Regions from separate parts of the Homo sapiens genome. Here regions 1, 2, 4, 5, 6 and 7 are each linked to region 3. The links are contacts of gene promoters, found by promoter capture Hi-C in blood cells and fetal thymus (Javierre and others, 2016). All regions are on one chromosome and are shown on one strand. Each heading gives the region's core, a stretch centred on a gene start or on the middle of the fragment in contact. The rest is flanking DNA. Distances are from core to core; before and after follow the strand shown.

The links. The method cuts DNA at HindIII sites, captures the fragments that hold promoters and counts their contacts. A CHiCAGO score of 5 or more calls a contact.
Region 1: a fragment that was not itself captured here is called in contact with the fragment with the promoter of MRPS28 in region 3 in 14 of 17 cell types (megakaryocytes, non-activated CD4 T cells, endothelial precursors and 11 more); the score reaches 12.6 in megakaryocytes.
Region 2: a fragment that was not itself captured here is called in contact with the fragment with the promoter of MRPS28 in region 3 in 5 of 17 cell types (M0 macrophages, M1 macrophages, M2 macrophages and 2 more); the score reaches 7.7 in M0 macrophages.
Region 4: a contact is called between a fragment that was not itself captured here and the fragment with the promoter of MRPS28 in region 3, in 7 of 17 cell types (M2 macrophages, M0 macrophages, M1 macrophages and 4 more). The highest score is 10.3, in M2 macrophages.
Region 5: a contact is called between a fragment that was not itself captured here and the fragment with the promoter of MRPS28 in region 3, in 1 of 17 cell types (fetal thymus). The highest score is 5.5, in fetal thymus.
Region 6: a fragment that was not itself captured here is called in contact with the fragment with the promoter of MRPS28 in region 3 in 1 of 17 cell types (M2 macrophages); the score reaches 5.6 in M2 macrophages.
Region 7: a fragment that was not itself captured here is called in contact with the fragment with the promoter of MRPS28 in region 3 in 1 of 17 cell types (megakaryocytes); the score reaches 5.7 in megakaryocytes.

What each region holds. Positions count from the first base shown.
Region 1 is chr8:79,759,039-79,761,738 of GRCh38, reverse strand. No RefSeq gene overlaps it. Among named protein-coding and RNA genes, the nearest start is that of HEY1, 7.4 kb to the left of the region's middle. The HindIII fragment of the contact is 5,303 bases long and covers 1-2,700 here.
Region 2 is chr8:79,718,328-79,721,027 of GRCh38, reverse strand. All of the region lies in intron 1 of LOC124901965 (a long non-coding RNA gene), which reads left to right. Among named protein-coding and RNA genes, the nearest start is that of HEY1, 48 kb to the left of the region's middle. The HindIII fragment of the contact is 3,442 bases long and covers 1-2,700 here.
Region 3 is chr8:80,028,939-80,031,638 of GRCh38, reverse strand. It overlaps MRPS28 (mitochondrial ribosomal protein S28), which reads left to right and starts at 1,380. Exons shown (of 3, transcript NM_014018.3): 1 at 1,380-1,603. The coding sequence starts at 1,391. All of the region lies in intron 5 of TPD52-MRPS28 (TPD52-MRPS28 readthrough), which reads left to right. It also overlaps a transcript of TPD52 not described here. RefSeq lists an enhancer at 1,228-1,657. The HindIII fragment of the contact is 3,845 bases long and covers 377-2,700 here.
Region 4 is chr8:79,700,534-79,703,233 of GRCh38, reverse strand. No RefSeq gene overlaps it. Among named protein-coding and RNA genes, the nearest start is that of HEY1, 66 kb to the left of the region's middle. The HindIII fragment of the contact is 3,579 bases long and covers 1-2,700 here.
Region 5 is chr8:80,493,482-80,496,181 of GRCh38, reverse strand. All of the region lies in intron 1 of ZBTB10 (zinc finger and BTB domain containing 10), which reads right to left. Among named protein-coding and RNA genes, the nearest start is that of ZBTB10, 8.6 kb to the right of the region's middle. The HindIII fragment of the contact is 4,137 bases long and covers 1-2,700 here.
Region 6 is chr8:79,655,237-79,657,936 of GRCh38, reverse strand. All of the region lies in intron 4 of STMN2 (stathmin 2), which reads right to left. Among named protein-coding and RNA genes, the nearest start is that of STMN2, 45 kb to the right of the region's middle. The HindIII fragment of the contact is 4,240 bases long and covers 1-2,700 here.
Region 7 is chr8:79,618,884-79,621,583 of GRCh38, reverse strand. The region is part of intron 1 of STMN2 (stathmin 2); the gene reads right to left. It overlaps LOC105375916 (a long non-coding RNA gene), which reads left to right. Exons shown (of 3, transcript XR_007060974.1): 3 at 380-452. Among named protein-coding and RNA genes, the nearest start is that of STMN2, 9.1 kb to the right of the region's middle. The HindIII fragment of the contact is 3,015 bases long and covers 1-2,700 here.

The sequences.
Region 1 (2,700 bases), core at 104-2,603, 270 kb after region 3:
TACTGGGGAGGAATGCAGTGGTATCAGGTGAGTGATGACCCAGGGAGGACGTCATATTTTCCCAGCACCCATTCTGTCTCCGGGTCTGGCTGAGGAGTCGCCGATTGTTCCTATGCAGAAATTTTAGTCCAGTGTTAGCAGATCTTTCAAGTTTCCAAAGGCATCTCCAAATTTGGATTTTTTATGTGAAATTGTCCAATTTTTATTGGTTAGTCACTAATTCACCAAAACCTGTCTTCCAGCAAGACTGAGCCATGGGCAACAACTATTTCTCAGCTTCCAGGGCTCTAATCTGAATGGCTCTCTGGAGGGCTAGAATTTTCTAATATCTTTGTCATCCGTGCTTTGAATACGCTACAATAAATGGGTAAACATAAGCTAAAATAAAATCAACACTGCAGTCTTTAGGCAGCTGTAGGTGATATTATGTAAAGATTACGTGCAGAGTTTTTTAAAAAATTACTTCTGGGCTGTCCAATTTCCTCAAGGTAAAATAAAGCAAGGAGAGAGGTTTCTGCTTCACAGAAACCTCTTCCAAAGGTGTTCTCAACTGGGTCCTTGCATTCCCTTTACCATGGAGGAAGACGAGTTCTCAGCCTGGCAGCCTGAAATGAAAGAGCGAGTGTGTAGCTCGCTTGTGACTCAGCACGCTGAAGTACTAAAAGGCATCATCTGATTTCAGGAAGTAAGACGTCTCAGCAAAAAGCAAGCTGTTTTGAACTTCAACTTGAAATATAATGCCTGCCTTGATCTTGATGAGCTGCAGGGTTTTTCTCTCAGATCCTTCAGTGTTCTGCTCTGGGGCGGGGGGTGGGGAGAGGCGAGAAGAAAGCCAAGGAAAAAGAAATCCAGGCCTTTCTTTTTGAGCTGTCTGTAGGTATTGATAGGCACTTGTCACAGAACTGTTCCCCCAAGCCTGTAAATCCCAGCAAAATTCAAGGTAAACAAATGTCCCTAAGAGATGAGTCTGAGGAACACAGACAGGTATCTGGATTTTGCGTTAATCCACTGCCACATTAGGCTTCTTTATAGTTTGGTTGTAAAATTTCCCATTGAATTTACTCCTATGTTGGTATTTTTTGTTACAGTCAAGTTAAAAGACCATGCCTAAATTTGAAAACTCTTAATCATAGATGGTTGGTAGGTTATCTATGGCTTGATGTAGCAGAAGAGACTTGAAAACGTTATATTTTAGCCAGAAAGAGACTGCCGTTTACCTCTGATAGAGTTGATACCCAAACAGTTTCTGTAGCTACTTTTAGTATTTTTTTTTTTTAAATGCCTCCCCTGGGCATGGTTTTGTTTCTGGTGCTTAGGGGTGTTCCATAAATGCAGCACTGAATCATAAAATTAAAGAATGACATATCTGAGGCTTTGATCATCCTCTTTGACCTCATTTCCTACCACTCGCCCCTCCTCACTGCTCCAGCCACACTTGCTGTCTGCTCTTGTGGGAACGTGCTCTACATGTTTGCATCTCCAGGCCTTTGTGTTGGCCGTTCCCTCTGCCTGGAATGCTTTTCCCCCAACGGTCTGCTGACCTATCTGTAATCTCTACTTGCGGCTCTGCTCAAAGGTCACCTTCCCCACCAGGTCTTTCCTTGCAACTCTATTTAAAACAATCATCCCACTCTCAGTCTCTCATCCCCACATCTGCCTCTCCCTACCTCCCTTTCTTCTTTTGTTTATCTCCACCGTACCCAGAATTATCTGACAGAATAGATACTTCATTGACTGTTTATTATCTGTTTTTGCCTGGTTTGTTCACTTCTACAGTTCTGTCACTTAAAATTGCCTAGCACATTAGAGGCTCTCAGTAAGTATTTGTTGAATGAGTGAATGAATCCTATCCACCCCCTTGGTCTCCACTAAGAAGCAGAGCAACCGGGCAGGGTGGCTCATGCCTGTAATCCCAGCACTTTGGGAGGCAGATGCGGGCGGATCACCTGAGGCCTGGAGTTTGAGACCAGCCTGACCAACATGGAGAAACCCATCTCTACTAAAAAAAAACAAAAAACCAAACAAACAAACAAACAAAAATAGCCAGGTGTGGTAGCACATGCCTATAATCACAGCTACTTGGGAGGTTGACTGGAGAATTGCTTGAGCCCAGCAGGTGGAGGTTGTGGTGAGCCGAGATTGCGCCATTGAACTCCAGCCTGAGCAAAACTGTCAAAAAAAAAAAAAAAAAAAAAAAAAAAAGCAGAGCAAAAGAGAGCCAGACAGGCAGGTCTTTATCCTCCAGCCCCCACCTTCACTACTCCCAGGGAAGATAATTTTATGTTTCACTTCAGTACTTCCTCTTCACTATTATAAAATTCTGCTTTTATTTATTTTATTTATTTTTATTTTTATAGAGAGACAGGGTCTTGGTATGCAAACTTCTGGACTCAAGCGATCCTCCCACCTTGGCTTCCTAAAGTTTTGGGATTACAGGTGTGAGCCACTGCGTCCAGCCAAAATTCTGCTTTAAAAAAAAACCAAACTCAAACATCATTCTTCAAGTCTATTTCCTTATTTATTTATTTCCTTATTTATTCCCACTTCTGTGTGCCTAGTGGGAATGTAGGGATATTGGTCACCTTTCTTTTCTTTTTTTTTTTTTGGAGGTGGAGTCTCGCTCTCCACCTCCCAGGTTCAAACAATTCTCCTGCCTCAGCCTTCTGAGTAGCTGGGACTACAGGCACCTGCCACCACGCC
Region 2 (2,700 bases), core at 108-2,607, 310 kb after region 3:
AAAGCAGTCTGTCCAACCTCAGTTAGAACAGGTATTGCATTATATTATAAGTAGGCATTTGCCCTTTTCTTCTTCTTTAGACTATGCGCTGTTTGAGAGCAGTAACTATTTCTTATACAACTGTCTAGATCGTAACAGGCACTTGTAAATATTTGTTGGCCAACCCTTGTCTCTGCACATTAATAAGTTATTTAAACTCACAGCAGTTTTATGGAAGAGATATGATTAGCCCCACTTTACAGAAGAAGAGACTAAGGTTTAAGTTACTGAGTTACTTATCCCAAGTCCTGCAGCTAGTAGGTGGGAGAGCCAGGTTAACAACCGTCAGTAAGAACCCAGAACATGATCCCCAAATCAACTTGACACCAAAACTCAAGGTCTTAAGCCAGATGCTGTTTTCCCTGTCTAATCACGAGCCATGCTTGGCAGGCATTCAAATCTTGCTGTTGACTGATGTGATGTGCTTTTTTGTCAAGTTTGGCTAACTGGGTTTCCCCTACTGTTTTCTAACTTCTCTGATAATAAAAATATATTCCTTCCATGCTGCTGTTATCTGAGCTCCAGAGATTCCCTCCCCCATCAAATCTGTCTCTTTCCCAAGGAGTACTATGTTTCCTAGTAAAGGACATTTAGTTGTTTTCTACTTCTACTTTTCTGATCATACATTTAAAAGTTTCTTTTTTGGAGTATTTCATATCAGTTTTGGATAAAAATAATACGTTTCCTGAGAAATATGAAAACGTTGGCCCCTATGGGAAAGTGTGATTTGGCTCTAATTGGTGTCTTTTATGGCCTCCAGGGAGTGCTAAGGTGGGAGGCTGCATGGGCTATGGCTCCACTGCAGGTCAAACCAGGCTCAAGTGGGAATGAGCATGACCTTATTGTTTCCAGACCTTTAGGGACAGCTAGTGTGCCCTTATTAATGGGATCTAGTTGTGCTGTGAGTTTAGGGGACAGTAGGGTGTGGGGAGCCAGAGTTGTGGACACTGGAGAGCAGGGTTAGTAGACCCCAGTTGCACATCTATTTTAATGAGCTCAAAAGATTTCAAACTCTCTGGCTTTGTGTGCTGACACACCCTGGGGTGAGGTGTGGAAAAATCATCATGGCTCAGCAATTGAGGATTTCAGAGGTAGAATGAGAGGCATGAGCCTGCTGACTGGGATCCCAGTACATCTGGAGCTGAAAGATGTGACTGGGCCAAAAGGGGCTGGTGTGCATGAAGTCTGGGAGATCGAGTAGAGAAATCCGCCACCTGGTTAGTGAGTCCAGCACTTCTCACTGGTTGACTCATTAAAATTATGTTAGTCTTGTCCAATGGACCCACTTGCCTTTTCTGCTAGAGAAAGTTCACAGCCTCCATTGATGGATGAGAAGGTGGGAGAGAGGAATGCAGAGCCAGGAAGCCCAGTTTACTTGTAAAAAAAAAAAAAAGAAGAAAGAAAAAGGAAGGCTGGGCGCTGTGGTTCAGGCTGTGGCTCACACCTGTAATCCTAGCACTTTGGGAGGCTGATGTGGGCGGATCACTTGAACTCAGGAGTTCAAGACCAGCCTGGCCAACAGGATGAAACCCCGTCTCTACTAAAAATACAAAAATTAGCCAGGCATGGTGGAGGGCGCCTGTAATCCCAGCTGCTGGGGAGGCTGACGCGGGAGAATTGAGTGAGCCCCGAAGGCTGAGGTTGCAGTGAGCCGAGATCACACCACTGCACTCCAGCCTGGGTGACAGAGAGACATTCTGTCTCAAAAAAAACAAAAACAAACAAAAAAAAACAACAACAAACCAACAACAACAACAACAAAAAAAAGCAAAAAAGGAAAAGAAAATAGAAAAAGGAAGGTCAGTGTTGAAGCTGCCTGGGCAAATCTGTGAAGAGAGAATTTAGTCAAGGGACTACTAAATTAAAAACAATAGTATAACACGTACACGTGGGCACACACACATGCATGCACACAACCAAGCCCATATGCTGCATGTTGAAGCCTAAAATCACTGCCGAATTTGTGTCCATGTGTAAATTATTTTACTGTTTACAGTAACTGATTCAAACCTCCAGCATTGCTAAAGTGTGTAGGATCTTTTTCCTCTCCTTACTTGAGTCTCATTGGATTGCTGCTGGTACTAGTCGGTTAGCTATTTGCTAGCTGGTCCCCAGCAACTGGTTTAATTTTTATTCTATTGATAGTGTGAACTGTTTAACTGATGACTCATATTAAACATTTGCTGAATGTAAGGTGTTCTGCTGGAGAGTTGACTTGTATAGTTGACAGCTCTGAGAGTCAGGTATTATCATTCCCATTATATAGAAGAGGAAACTGAGACTTAGAATGTTCAATGACTTGCACTCAAGGCCGCACAGCTGGTTAGAACTGGGATTCAAATATAGTCTTTTCTAACTGCAAGTTCCTCCATGGGATTGATACATTTTCCCCGACTGAGGTTTCTTTTCTGTATTGGCTGCTAGGCTTCTGAAGCCAAAGTCATAGCCTATTTCTAGCAAGTGTGAAGCACTTGATGAGATGTATTAAATATACTGAATTAAATCCTGGTTTTATTTTCATTACCCTTATTTCCCCTTTCCAAGATTTATTTACTTATCTGTGTCTTATTAATATCTATCTATCTATCTACACATTTATTTATTGAATAGACTGTCTCAAATTTTTTGGACAAGCTATTTGGTGGTGTAGTAGTAAATAGG
Region 3 (2,700 bases), core at 131-2,630:
CAATCCTCCCTCCTCAACCTCACAAAGTGCTGGGATTACAAGTGTAAGCCACCCTGCCCAGTCAGACTGAGGGTTCTTGAAGACCACTGGCCATGCTCTTTACAATTTACCACACTTTCTCCTGAAAAAAAGTGGAAGTAGCACTATCCGTAGAAAATAATGTTCTAGGCAAGAGTCCATTAATAGTCTCGGGAGATAAACAGTTTTAACTGCCAAGAGGGAGAACTCACCTGGAGAATTTAATGAATTTGTAAGGACTACCATACAGTTAGCTAGTAATAATTTTATGTGATTCATACAATTGTGCACCATTCTGAGATCAGTGTACTTCGTGTTCTTAACACTATCTGTACCATTAGAGAGCATCAGAAAAGCTTAAAACCCATAGTCAAGGCATTCTTAAAATAGGGTCTGTGATCATAAAAATTCTTTCTCTCGAAGTACTTGCAAATGAACTGGAAAGGTGTGTGCCCCCAAAATAAAACTAACTGTGGATTAATATTAAACTGCTGGGTCAAAGATAGACGGACAACTAATTAATAAACACTTAAGAATGATGTTAGGCTGTTTTGAACAGGGTGGGTAAATTTTGGGAATTAACACTGCAGGAGAAAAGGGAAAGAAAATCCAGAGTGAGGGTGGGGGCCTACGGCGGTGCAATACTTAGGGACATTCCAAAACTTCTGAACTCCTAAGTTAGATAATAGGTATCTAGAGGTGTCAAAACATTTCAGAAAAACTATTTTTGTGGCGTGAGTGGACTGGCTGCAGAAGTGGCAAAGGACAAACTTGGATGCAGGGTTTGGCAAATGTTGGGTGAGCCCTAATCTGTGCCTGGTGCTAGGGACCCTACAGCAAAGTTCCTCTTTTCAAAGTTTAAAAAGTTGGGAGTAGACACTAAATATTATTAAATATTTAATATTAATATGTGGCATATTAGAAAGTGCTACATGGTACTAAGAAAAACAGGTGCCAGAGAGTCTGCATTTGGGCTTCCACTTCTAAATAGGGTAATCAAGGAGACCCTCATATTTGAGTGAAGACCCCAAACTCGAGTGCTGGCGGCCATGTAGGGGGGACGGCAGGGCGGGAGAACGAGCGTCGCGTTAGCAGAATTTACAGTACAATGGGGTCCAACGGATGCCCAGGAAGGCGAAATTCCTGCAAGTTAAACGCACTTCTAACGCAAAACTTAACCAGGCCCCTTTCCAACTATTTAGCCCACCAATTTTAGCTTAAGTCTCTTCTTCCCCACGCCACTCCCAGATGAAAGGAAGACACGCCTCGTTGGCCTCCAGAGCTCTGCGTCCGGGGGGCGGACCTCTCATAGCTCCGCCCCGTGACCCGCGCGCTTGCGGAGGGGAGGTCAAAGGTCAGAGGTAAAGAAGTCATGGCGGCGCTGTGTCGGACCCGTGCTGTGGCTGCCGAGAGCCATTTTCTGCGAGTGTTTCTCTTCTTCAGGCCCTTTCGGGGTGTAGGCACTGAGAGTGGATCCGAAAGTGGTAGTTCCAATGCCAAGGAGCCTAAGACGCGCGCAGGCGGTTTCGCGAGCGCGTTGGAGCGGCACTCGGAGCTTCTACAGAAGGTGGAGCCCCTACAGAAGGTGGAGCCCGGGCGGGTGAGAGGGAGTCGCGGGAATTACGCCAACGACGCGGTGGGCGGGGTCGGGAATAGGGGCGGAGCCTGGCTTAGGAAGGGGAGCTGAGGTCCGGGGCCCAGTTTTCCGGAGTTGCGGTGCGTTGTGGCTCAGCCCTCGGCCCCTAGAATCTGTGCTTGGTGTTTTTCTTCCTTTCGTTGTCCTTTTGTGTGGCATTTGCGTACTGGGCCGGGTCTGTCCACACTGCGCTTGTTTTCCTGGGATTGAATGCTGGTGGGAAGGTAACCAGCGGGGAGCGCTGCTGGGGAGGCGATCTAGGGCGATTCCTGGGACGCTAAGGAGAATGGGACTCACACGGAGAGGCAGGGCTCTGCTGGGTCTTGTTCTGAACAGTAGCTCTAGCATGGAGCTTGCTGTCTGGAGTAGAAGGCCCTTCATAAACATTTGTTAATTTAATGACTGGGTGATGAATCACTTTCTGAACTTGGGCAAGTGATTTAACTTGTCAGCGCTTCACCTCTCTTTTGTAAATGTCTTCTTTTTTTAAAAAGTAAAGTAAAATCTCCGTTTGTCTCAGCCAGTACTTTTGTAAAATACCATAAATTTATAGATAAATGAAATGGAAGAAATAAAATTACAAGCCTAAGTTTTTAATAATTAAACTCAGCAGACATGAAATTGAATTATATACAAATAAACTCTCAATTTCTGTATTTTTCTTCCTAGGGAGTAGTACCAAACAGTTCACAAGACTGGCAGTGTCCTGGGTTATAGGGTCATTTTAGTAGCAATTACTGATGTCAAAATTTTTCTGAAATCCAAGGACTAGAAGAAGCCTGGTATATTAGTTTATTATTTTCTGTTGTAACAAATTACTACAAATTTAGTGGCGTAAAACACAGGAAATGTGTTGTTGTTAGGGTTGTGAGAAGTCAGACGGGATCTCACTGGTCTAAAATCAAGGTGTTGGTGAAGTTGTGTTCTTTTCCGTAGCTTCTAGGAGAATCTCTTCCTGGCCTGTCTTTTCTGCCTCTGTTTTCTACTTTTTTGTTTTTTGGATTTTTTTGTTTGTTTTGTTGTTTTTTGAGACAGGGTCTCGCTCT
Region 4 (2,700 bases), core at 53-2,552, 330 kb after region 3:
GAGATACATGTTGCTTTTCACCAGACTAGAATGACAACAGCATGCAGCTGGCTGAGATTCATCTGGAAAACGAACCTTCTGGTGGAGGTGGAGGGATCTAATCTGCACATAGCAGGGTTGTCTAGACCCCAAGAAGAAGTGAATTCACTGTTGGTTGGTGGCTGAAAGCATTTCTTCACCCTTCATATGGTTGTACTGATGAACTAAAGAATATAATCCATGGTAGGAAACTTCCCGTGGGCCTTTGCTACTAAAATTACCTAAGTTACCCCTGACTCCTCTATTGGAAAATGTATTGCCAACTCAGTGAAAATCTTATGTCATAGGCAGTTAAGCAGTTTTTTTTTCCCCTATTTTATCATGGGCAGAGACCAATTTGGAGATACATACATTTGAGTCACAAACAGCACTCCCAGCCTGAGTTATTCATGCCCAAATTCCTCAATGTCTAATAACAAAAATGTCTCTTCTCATTAGGAATGTCAGAAACAGAGTTTTCCCCTGGGAGTCTAAATAAAATCACACATCTGGATTGGAAATTTAAAAAAATTGTCCAGATACTTCTACATAGTTGGAAGTTTAGCATAATACAAACATTTAGAGTGAGCTTTTCCCCTCCAGTCACAGAGTTATTCCTGTTCCTTTGTAGATAAATGATTAAATGCTATTACAAGGTAGAAACTCCAATTGTGAAGATGAACTCTGAACTATTAAGCCTTCAAGACTTCATTCTGTAAGAGTCAATTCTAGAGAGTTCTTGATGATCAGGTTGTAGAGCAATGTATTCAAAAACCATGAAGCAAATATTCAAAACATTCTGTGGCCTGGCTATATCCAGGATCAATTATTCACAATATTGGGAGATACTACTGCATCAGTAATCTTGTAAAAATTCATAAAGGGACTTCAGCATGCAACTGAGGCTGGGACCCACTGTAGTCTAAGCCATGTTACATGTGTGGTGGGGTATTGATCTTCTCAGCTCTTAGGGGGCTACAGCCCCTGTGCAGGAGCAGGTCACCTCTAGCCCTCAATCCTGCTTATCTGGGTTATGAAGAAATATGATTATTTTCTATGTGAAATAGGCTGAGAACACCTGGTGGTTTAAAATCAACCCTTTCATTTATAGAAAGTGCTATGGTCTGAATGTGTCTCCAAACTCATGTGTTGGAAATTTAATTTCCAATGCAACAGTGTTAGGAGATGGGACCTTTTGGGAGATGTTTCAGCCAGGAGGGTTCTGCCCTCATGAATGAATTAATGCTGATATAATAAGGGCTTGCAGGAGTGGGATCACTTTCTCTTGCCCCTTCTGCCTTCTTCCCTGTAAGGACACAGCAGGAAGAACCTCACCAGATGCTGGCACCTTGATTTTGGACTTCCCAGCCCCTAGAACTGTGAGAATTAAATTTCTGTTATTTATAAATTGCCTAGTCTCAGGTCTTTTGTTATGGTGGCACAAAATCAATTAAGATGGGTCATCAGCCCGAGTGCCATGAAGTCAGTGTAGGCAGCCATTAGGTCAATCAGGTAAGCTGGTGGCTTCCAACAGAGGGTGCCTACTATGGATGTGCTTTGTTTCTTTCTCTCTCCACCACCCCCTGTCACTTCTCTTTTCTCCTGTCTGCTGGCCTGCTTACCTGTTATTCAATTTACTTACTTATATTATTTTGCCAACAGTTTTCAGAGGAGAGTCTTAGGAAAACATTATTATAAATCTTTAATAAGTATAAGAGATGAGCGATTGTTTGAATGAACTTTACACTGTTGCTTAGACACCTCCTCCTCTGGATTTACCTATGGAAGTCCCTTAATCTGGAATTCTATTTTTCACACACTTTCTTGTGTCTTGGGATTTACTTACTTGATCTCTCACTGGAATCCTCTTATCTATATTTCCCCATATACACACCTTTCCCATACTTCATGATTCACTTACAAATGCTGTCTTCTCTGCACACCCCTGCAATCAGAAATATAATCTCTTGCATTTTTGAACTGTTTTAGCACTTTGCATGCTTTTTAATTTTATTATTATTTTAAACTGACAAAACTATATATACTAATGGTGTATAACATGATGTTTTGGCATATATATGTATTATGAAATGGCTAAATCAAGATAATTAAGCTAAGCATTACTTTTCATACTTACATTTTTGTGGTTGCATCTTATGCCTTAAAGCACCTATCACTTTGTACAGCAAGCAGGTGGGTGTTTGTATACAGGACTTACCTGCTGGTGATGAATATTTTTGGTGGCCTATCAAGCTCCCATTTTCCTTGTGGCAGGTTTCATTTTCCAAAAGAAGTTGCAACAACAATTCCAGTGTCACATATTCTTCCAGAACCTTGCCACTGAGCAAGGAAAATTCACTTTTCCTCTTTTCTATCACAAGGTCAAAGGGTAATCCTGTCCCATTTGCTACTGATTGTTTCAGGATTCAATTCAGATCCAAATGCAAGAGGACAGGTTTGTTGGGGACTCCTTAATTTGTTTTCTTTTTCTGGGAAAAGTTCTGGAAGCAACTTTTACCCTCTTCTTTTAGATCTTGTCATGTGCAGACGTAGGGTCTAGAACCACTACACCTATATCATTACCAGTCTGAGATGAGTCTTCCTCATGGAAGAGAGCAGAGGCCAAGAGTATTGCAGAGGAATGGAGCTAGAGTCACTGGAGCACACCTTTCCCAAAGCCCA
Region 5 (2,700 bases), core at 41-2,540, 460 kb before region 3:
TCTCAAAATAGGTCCCTAATAACTCCAGGTATCTTTGCCTCTTTGGTTCCTTCTTTAACGTTCTATGTCCACTTTTAGTATACTGATAACATCAGATATCACTGATAAGTTAAAAAAAATTACTATTTCCACAACTGGTCTTTTCAAATGTAGTGACCTTTTCTAACCTCTCTCCCAAAAAGGAAAACACAATTAGCTCAGACATTAGTCTAAACTGGCTAAACAAGGAGATTTTAAAGAAACAGACATTCAGAGCTAAATATGAAATCTTGAATTTTTTTATTTGTAAAGATGCCATTTAGTAAAACTTTAGTCTGGATGAGACCTCAATATCAAGTCTTCCAAAATTTAGAAAATATAGGTAAGTGTCCAGTTAGTTAAAATCCTTATAACCTATTATCTAGATGTTCAATATTTCCAGAACATAGGCTACAAAATAGTAAATATTTTACTCAAAGGAAAATGCTTGAAAAGTCCTAACTTTACATATTTATTTAATAAACATTAAATGAATACCTACTTTGGCCAGGGTCTACACTAGGAAGCAAAATGATTCAGTTGCTAATTTGAAGTTACTGTTAGTGGGTAAGACTCTTAAGGTGTTATAAGAGCAGAAAGCATGTGTATCTAATCCAGTTTTTTGTTTTTAAAGTGTGGGGATGCTTTTTCGAAGAAACAAGACCTGAGCAGAGCTTTAAAGGATCCAAGAGTGGGATGGGTGGATGAGCACTTCAAGTAAATGCGACGGCATTTAAAAAAAAAAAAAACAACAAAACAAAAACCCAGCATTTTAAAAAAACATAAGATGGTCTATAGCATCCTCAAAAGTTAAGATTTGTAAAAGAACTTCAATGTGATTTTCTAAAAAGCCCTACGGAATGCAAATATGCACTTGGGCACATTTCAGAGGTAAATGTCCATCCATTTTGACAAGAGCGCCATGTAATCTCAGCACTTTGGAAGGCGACAGGATGGCTGGTAGCCAGGAGTTCAAGACCAGCCCAGTCAACATAGAGAAACCCTATCTCCTTAAAAAAAAAAAAAAAGAGAGAGAGAGATTTGAATCCCCTTCTCCCTCCCAAATATTAGAACCATTGCTATAGGCACCTTACAGAGTTTTCAGAAGCAGTGATATAATCGAAATAGCAAAGAGGAGAGATGCCTATGGCAGCAAGGTGGAGATTTATTATCAGGGAATGAAGACTGCAGATACTGTGATCAGTTGGAAAGCTATTTTTCCTTTTTTTTTTTTTTTTTTTGAGACAGTGTCACTCTGTCACCCAGGCTGGAGTGCAGTGGTTAGATCATGGCTTATTGTACCCTCAACCTCCTGGGTTCAAGGGATCCTCCTGTCTCAGTCTCCCAAGTAGCTGGGACTATAAGATGTGTGCCACCACGCCCAGTTATTTTATTTTTTTAAATTTTTGTAGAGATAAGAGTCTCCCTGTGTTGCCCAGGCTTGTCTCAAACTCCTGGGCTCAAGCAATCCTCCTGCTTTGGCCTCCCAGAGTGCTAAGTTTACAGGTGTGAGCCATGTACCCTCTGGAAAGCTACTGTTAATAGGGCAACATACATGCCAGAAAAAAAAGACCTTAATTAGGGAAGATAGGTGTCAATGAGGTGTGAAGCAGAGCCTAGAAAAATAGTCTAAAAATCATCAGAACTTGCATGATAAAACAGATGTAAAGGGTGGAGGGAGAGAATCATAGGGTCATCAGCATTCCAGCTTGGGGCCTAAACAACGCCACCAACTTGTAGAGAATACAAGACCATCACCCAGTCTCCTACACTTTTGCGGGGGTAGAGGAAGAGAGGCTAACTTCAGTTACAAGTAATAGAAAGTCAAACAGCACACCTGTAGTCAATCCGTTAACAATAGGAAAATGTTATTCAGTTAAAGAAACAAGCAATTAGTATTTACTACCCTACTCAATTACAGCCCTTTTCCAATAACTGAATTAGCAGAAAAGACATTTCCAACACAAACATTTAAGTGTAAACTAAAAGCATTGAAAACATAAAAATATTACTCTGCAGCAACCCACTGGAATATACTGAAAGAACAAAAACAGTAATTTCTATTTCCAAATTTTAGAACAAATTCATTTTATAGAAGGAAGACAAACAAGGCCATAGCAAGTTTTGCCAAATACATGCTAGTGGCAATGACAAATCATAACAGTTGGTAGAGAAAAAGACAAGAAGGTCTCTTTTGCAGTTTTCTGATCACCTCTATATCTCTGAGTGATGGCATCCTCTTTGGTAGCTTAAGTACTATCCCCAGAAATTCTAATCCTGTGAGTGTTAGGGAGCAGACAGACGATGGTTATTCAGGTTATTTTTTATTTTTTATTTTTGAGACGAAGTTTCGCTCTTGTTGTCCAAGCACAAGGGCGCGATCTCGGCTCACCACAACCTCTGCCTTCTGCGTTGAAGCGATTCTCCTGCCTCAGCCTCCCGAGTAGCTGGGATTACAGGCATGCGCCACCACGCCCGGCTCGGTTTTTTTTTTTTGTTTTGTTTTTAAATTAGAGACGGGGTTTCTCCATGTTGGTCAGGTTGGTCTCGAACTCCCGACCTCAGATGATCCATCCCCCTCGGCCTCCCGAAGTGCTGGGATTACAGGCCTGAGCCACCGCGCCCGGCCTATTCAGGTTATTATAACATCCTGCCAACCAGTTCTCTCCTCAAACTCTAAAC
Region 6 (2,700 bases), core at 145-2,644, 370 kb after region 3:
ACTGTTATTACTGACCCTCTTTTAAATTTCTAATTTAATAGGAGTAACTTCATTCAAACAAAATGCTAAATATTACTTCCAATATAAAACTTTGTCTTATTTTAGGAAAAAGCAAAGTAGTTTTAGTATACACATTCACAATATGTAAACCACAATTTTGTATTAAATCCACCTATGTGATATACATCAAATCAAAGTAAATATGGTATTTCCTTTTTATTGAGGAGATAAAAGATCTTGACTGACACTGGCCAAAGATCCTATTAGATTTGAAAAGCACCTCATTAGCTATGAAATACCAGAAAAAAATGTGGTCCTAGAATTTCTCTGGGCTGCATTATGTGACGTGGGATAGACTGCTGAGAGCTGAGATTTAAATCAGAACAGGCTACGAACCACTAGTTCTCAAATCTGGCTGCATATTGGAACTATATGGAGAGTTTTTAAAATGTATGGATGCTGGGTCCCATCCTTGGAGATTCTGTGGGTTGATGTCAGGAATTTTAAGCACTCTTTGGGTTGATTATTTGCAGGAAAAGTGGTGTGCAGATGTACATGTATGCATGTATGGGGGAGGGCACTAAATTTGGTTGGGAGTGGAAAGAGTACAAAAATGAGCTGAGCATGGCTGGGCTAGGTGAAGAGAAAAAAACACACAGAGGAAAAAAATGGTCCGTTAAAAGCTAGCACTTCTGGAAATATTAGATAAAATATGGAAAATTTTTGAACTATTTTACAATTGAAATCAAGAAGGATATGCCCTGGCTGGGCACGGTGGCTCACACCTGTAATCCCAGCACTTCGGGAGGCCGAGGTGGGTGGATCACTTGAGGTCAGGAGTTTGAGACCAGCTTGGCCAACACGGCAAAACCCTGTCTCTACTAAAAATACAAAAATTAGCTGGGCGTGGTGGTATACGCCTGTAATCTCAGCTACTTGGGAGGCTGAGACATGAGAATCACTTGAACCCAGGAGGCAGAGGTTGCAGTGAGCTGAGATCGTGCCACTGCACTCCAGCCTGGGCGACACAGCGAGACTCTATCTCAAAAAAACAAACAAACAAAAAAGGAGGCTATGCCGTGTGTTTGGGTATGTGTAATTTGAAAAACAAAAATGCTCCAGGACTGCCAGTGATATAAATCTTGCATTGAGGCCTAATTGAGAATGCTGCAATAAGATCAGCAGGTACCGTTCCTAGCAACTTCACTTAATTGTTTTAGGGCCTAGGATGTGAGAAGAAGGTTGAGTCACAGTGATCTCAAAGAGATCACACAGTGGCCCTCTGCTGTCCATGTTATGAGCACTGGTCAAGCGGGAACATCCTTAGTTCTCTGGAGAAGTGCAAAGTGGTGGCAGATGGAGGAAGACTGACTGGTTGAAGGTCAGGGGAGTAAACTTTAGCAAATGGAACTTTGCTCCCCTGTATCTGAGTAAAACATGTGTTCCTATACCGCCATAAATCACCTGGAGAGAGCCAAATTCTGTTGCCTCTTCCAAATCGTGACTTGACTCACTTGGGTGAAACGCAATGACATTGTTCTGAGAGTATAAAAACACTAGCTTATAAATACAAATTTAATCCGAACTTTCATGTTTCGGATAAGGCATCAGGTAACTATTCCGGTTCTTGCCCAAGTCAGCAGTACTCGTCCACGGACCTCTGAGAGCCTCAGTGTCTTACTGCTGCATCAGAGCCCACACACCCTTCCCCAGCAATGCTTTCAAAAATTCCTCACGAGCACAAATGAAGATCTCCATGCAATTATATCTTTAAAAGTTTTCATGCCTGATTTCCTTTGTTTCTAGTTGGATATTTGCAGTCAGAGACTGAGAATGAAAACAGAATCATCAGAACTTCAGGATAAGGTTTTTTGAACCTTAGATGAGAAGGGCCATCTCTAACAGAAGACATGAAACTCTGAGAAATAGAAAACAGGAGGCTCATCTAATTAAACTCTCAGGGCTCTGATGACAGGCACACTCCTGTTTTGCTCTGCATCTCCAATGCCTATCACACAAAGGCACTTGCTACTGGCGGGAAGGGTGACTGACTGCTCAGAAAAGGATTGAGGCGTCTTTCTCAAACATCCCATTTCTCAATGCTTATTCCAATTTCTGGAAACGGACACAGCTAAACTACTCACAGCTATACTGTATATTTTCAAAGGAAAGGTTTTTTGAGGGGATAGGTGGGAGACAGCATAGAGAGTACAAAAGTGAAAGACAGCATTTTTCAGAAGAACTCCAGCACAGCTCCTCCTGACTCATGGGAATGAATATATGTTTAGGTTGTTGAAGAGAAGGGCACCAGGATACCAGAACTGGATGAAACATCCCCTATGAGCTAATCTTTGCTATGGTCCCATGTGATGCTATTATACCCTAGAATGGGCTTACCAGTGTTCATAAATACCCTGGCCTTTTCTGGCAAATATATTTTTCTAATTTAATATTTTAATTAAATATATATTTAATGTCATATATTAAACAAATATTAAATCAAATGTTATTTATACTTATATCAATATAATATATAGACATTAATATTTCCAGTGTAACATTTTTCCTACAGATTGCCTCGTGAGGCTTGTATAGAAGTCTTACACATTTCAAAAGCATGAATCAGCCTCCCTGAATCCACTCACCATGGGAAAATTTGACAAAATTCCAGCTTTCATGATGGATTCCCATTTCTCTACC
Region 7 (2,700 bases), core at 142-2,641, 410 kb after region 3:
TGAGCCAACCTTCATTTAAGAAGAAGAAGGCTCTTCTTTAGGAGGAAGAAGGGCTGGCCAGGTGGGTTCTAATCACAAGAACTGCAAAACGTCTGATGCTGTTGTCAGAGGGACTCAATTAACATTTTATTTCACTTTTCATTACATAGAAAGTATTTTTCAAAAAGCAAATGACGCAGTTTTTGATTGCGCTCCTTGTTCCCTCTTTACTCATTCTAAATGCATGCACATGGGTATTTATATCTAATGACAATTTAAAAACTCAACTTCTTGCATTTATATACTACTTGACAGACACTAATCACTTTCACGTTTTTTTCCTTGAGTCTGAAAAAGACCCTCTGATATGGACAAGGCAGTTCACATGGCTATTTTACAGATGCTGAATTAGAGGAACAAACAGGAAAATTGACCTGACCAAGGTGCGTCAGCAAGAGTAAAGACTGAAACTCAGAATCCCTTCTGGGCTCTTCCTTCCATGCAGCACCAGCAGCACTGGTGGAGAAGGGCAGAGCTGATGGGGACTTAGACTCTGACCTCTTGACGCCTTGTTGCAGAGCTCCACAGAGGACGTAACTCACATGCTGTCCTGGCCTGCTGCTTGGGGACCCTACAGGTCACTGCTGTTTTAGGTCTACTCCAAGTGTGGTTCTGAATCAGCCTCATCAGCACCACCTGGGAGCTTGTTAGAAATGCAAATCCATGGGACCTGCTTCAGACCTAATAGAGTGAGAACCTCTGGGGGTGGAGGCTAGCTCCTCAAACGCTGCTGATTCTCAGTAAAATTTGGGAAGCATTTTAATTAAAGAATTCTCTGGCCAGATTGGTTGATGGACTCATTAAATATTTAAATTTTTCAGCCTTTTGGTGGATCTTGGTACTTCCTAGTTGATGTTACTAGTGTATCATTATGTACTATCTTGTAATATTGTAGGGCAGTTTAACAAAATTGTTAAGATGGTGAAATTGTGAGATGGTGACTTCCATTTATAGTTATAAATTACCATTATTACTATTGAACTTTCTGACATGTACAGGATCTTTTTTTCTGCAAAAGACTAAATCCACCAAGGGTGAGGAACATTTTTATTTTTGTTCTCATAATACCTGGCACAGGCTTCAGAACAAAGTTGGTGCTCCAATCTATTTTACTTTAGTTAGTGACACTGACTATCAATGACTTTAAACTGAAGACAAATATGCCTCGTGTATGACTATTCTCACTGTGCATGTTTTATTACAGGACAGTGGAGGGAGTGCTAAACCTTATTTTGCATGAATGTGTATATATGTATGAAATAGGCACATACATGATATATAACATATTTATATATTACATATAAATATTTTGATAGGTAAATAATATACACAACTTTATTATATGTAATATATATATTATATGTTATAATATATATATAATATATATTAGACCTGTGTTCCGAGTCTGCCTCTGAGGCTTGCCACTGAATAAATTATTTGAGCTTAAATTTACCAATCTTTAAATAAGACAACTTGTATAGTATGCCCATCTCAGAGGGATTATATGAAGATTCAAAAGGATGAAGCAGGTGAATGTTTTCTAAAAATGACAAGGTCCCATATAGATAGATCATGCGATTTAATTTTTCTTTTGAACATTTTTTAGTCTTCTATGCTTGCCTGCTCCTTTTAAAAAACTATATAAGAAAAAAATCATCAGAAATATAATAAAAAGATAATTTTTAAAGTGACAAGAGTGCAGGATCATGTAATATGTCATTAAAAGACTAGAACAACTTTGGTAATTTTTCATGTGTTTGAATATTTATTATGAGAAGGGTGCTAATTGGAATTTCTCAGATAAAGCTGTAAGACTTAAATAATAACAATAGATATTTTTGTTGGAAATAAAAAGTAACTCTGCATTAATAAAAATAATTATGTTCTGAAGCAGAGTTCCCAGGGAGGCTGCAATAAGTCTATCCTAAAAGTGCCTGAGATGATTAATGTTCTTCCCGAGAGTCTGGAAATGATAACAGTACCATCTTGATGGGATTTTCTGGTCTCAGTTTTGTAACAGTCAATATATTATAAGTTGGGGTTGTTTCGTGTGAGTTAGGTTGCTCCTCACTAGGAAGCCCAAACTGGGAAACTATTATTATAATAGGTTTACTGTGAGCAGCTTTGTTAATGGAAGTTAAACTTTATGGCTGCATTTCATAAGGAAAAAAAACTTCCAAAGACAGAGTAGAATGCTAATAAAAATTTAATTTACACTTTAACATGCTCTCTTGTAAAAGTATTTGTGGGACTAGGTTTAGATAAATTTCACTCAATTCTCTTTATCCTGATATAAAGACATACAACTAAAAGATGGACAGATTTATTATCCTGATGATCTATTGTTATATTGGGTACTTGTACTAATGGTTAATGTGCGAACTCCAACATCCAAAATACAATTATTCCAGAAGAATAACTGCTAAATGGGCACTCTTGCAGGCGTTGCTTTACAATCTTTGTAAAAAAAAAAAAATCATTCAGTCCTAGGCAATATTTTTGCCCTATAAAAATAAATTATTTTAAATGTGCTCTATGAGAACTGTAATTATCTATTTCTTGCCATAAAATAAATTTTGAAACCCATAACTTTCCAGAGTATTAAATATTTTACTCTGGAGGTCAACAACAAGTGAGAACAAACTTAAAATATTTTTGTTA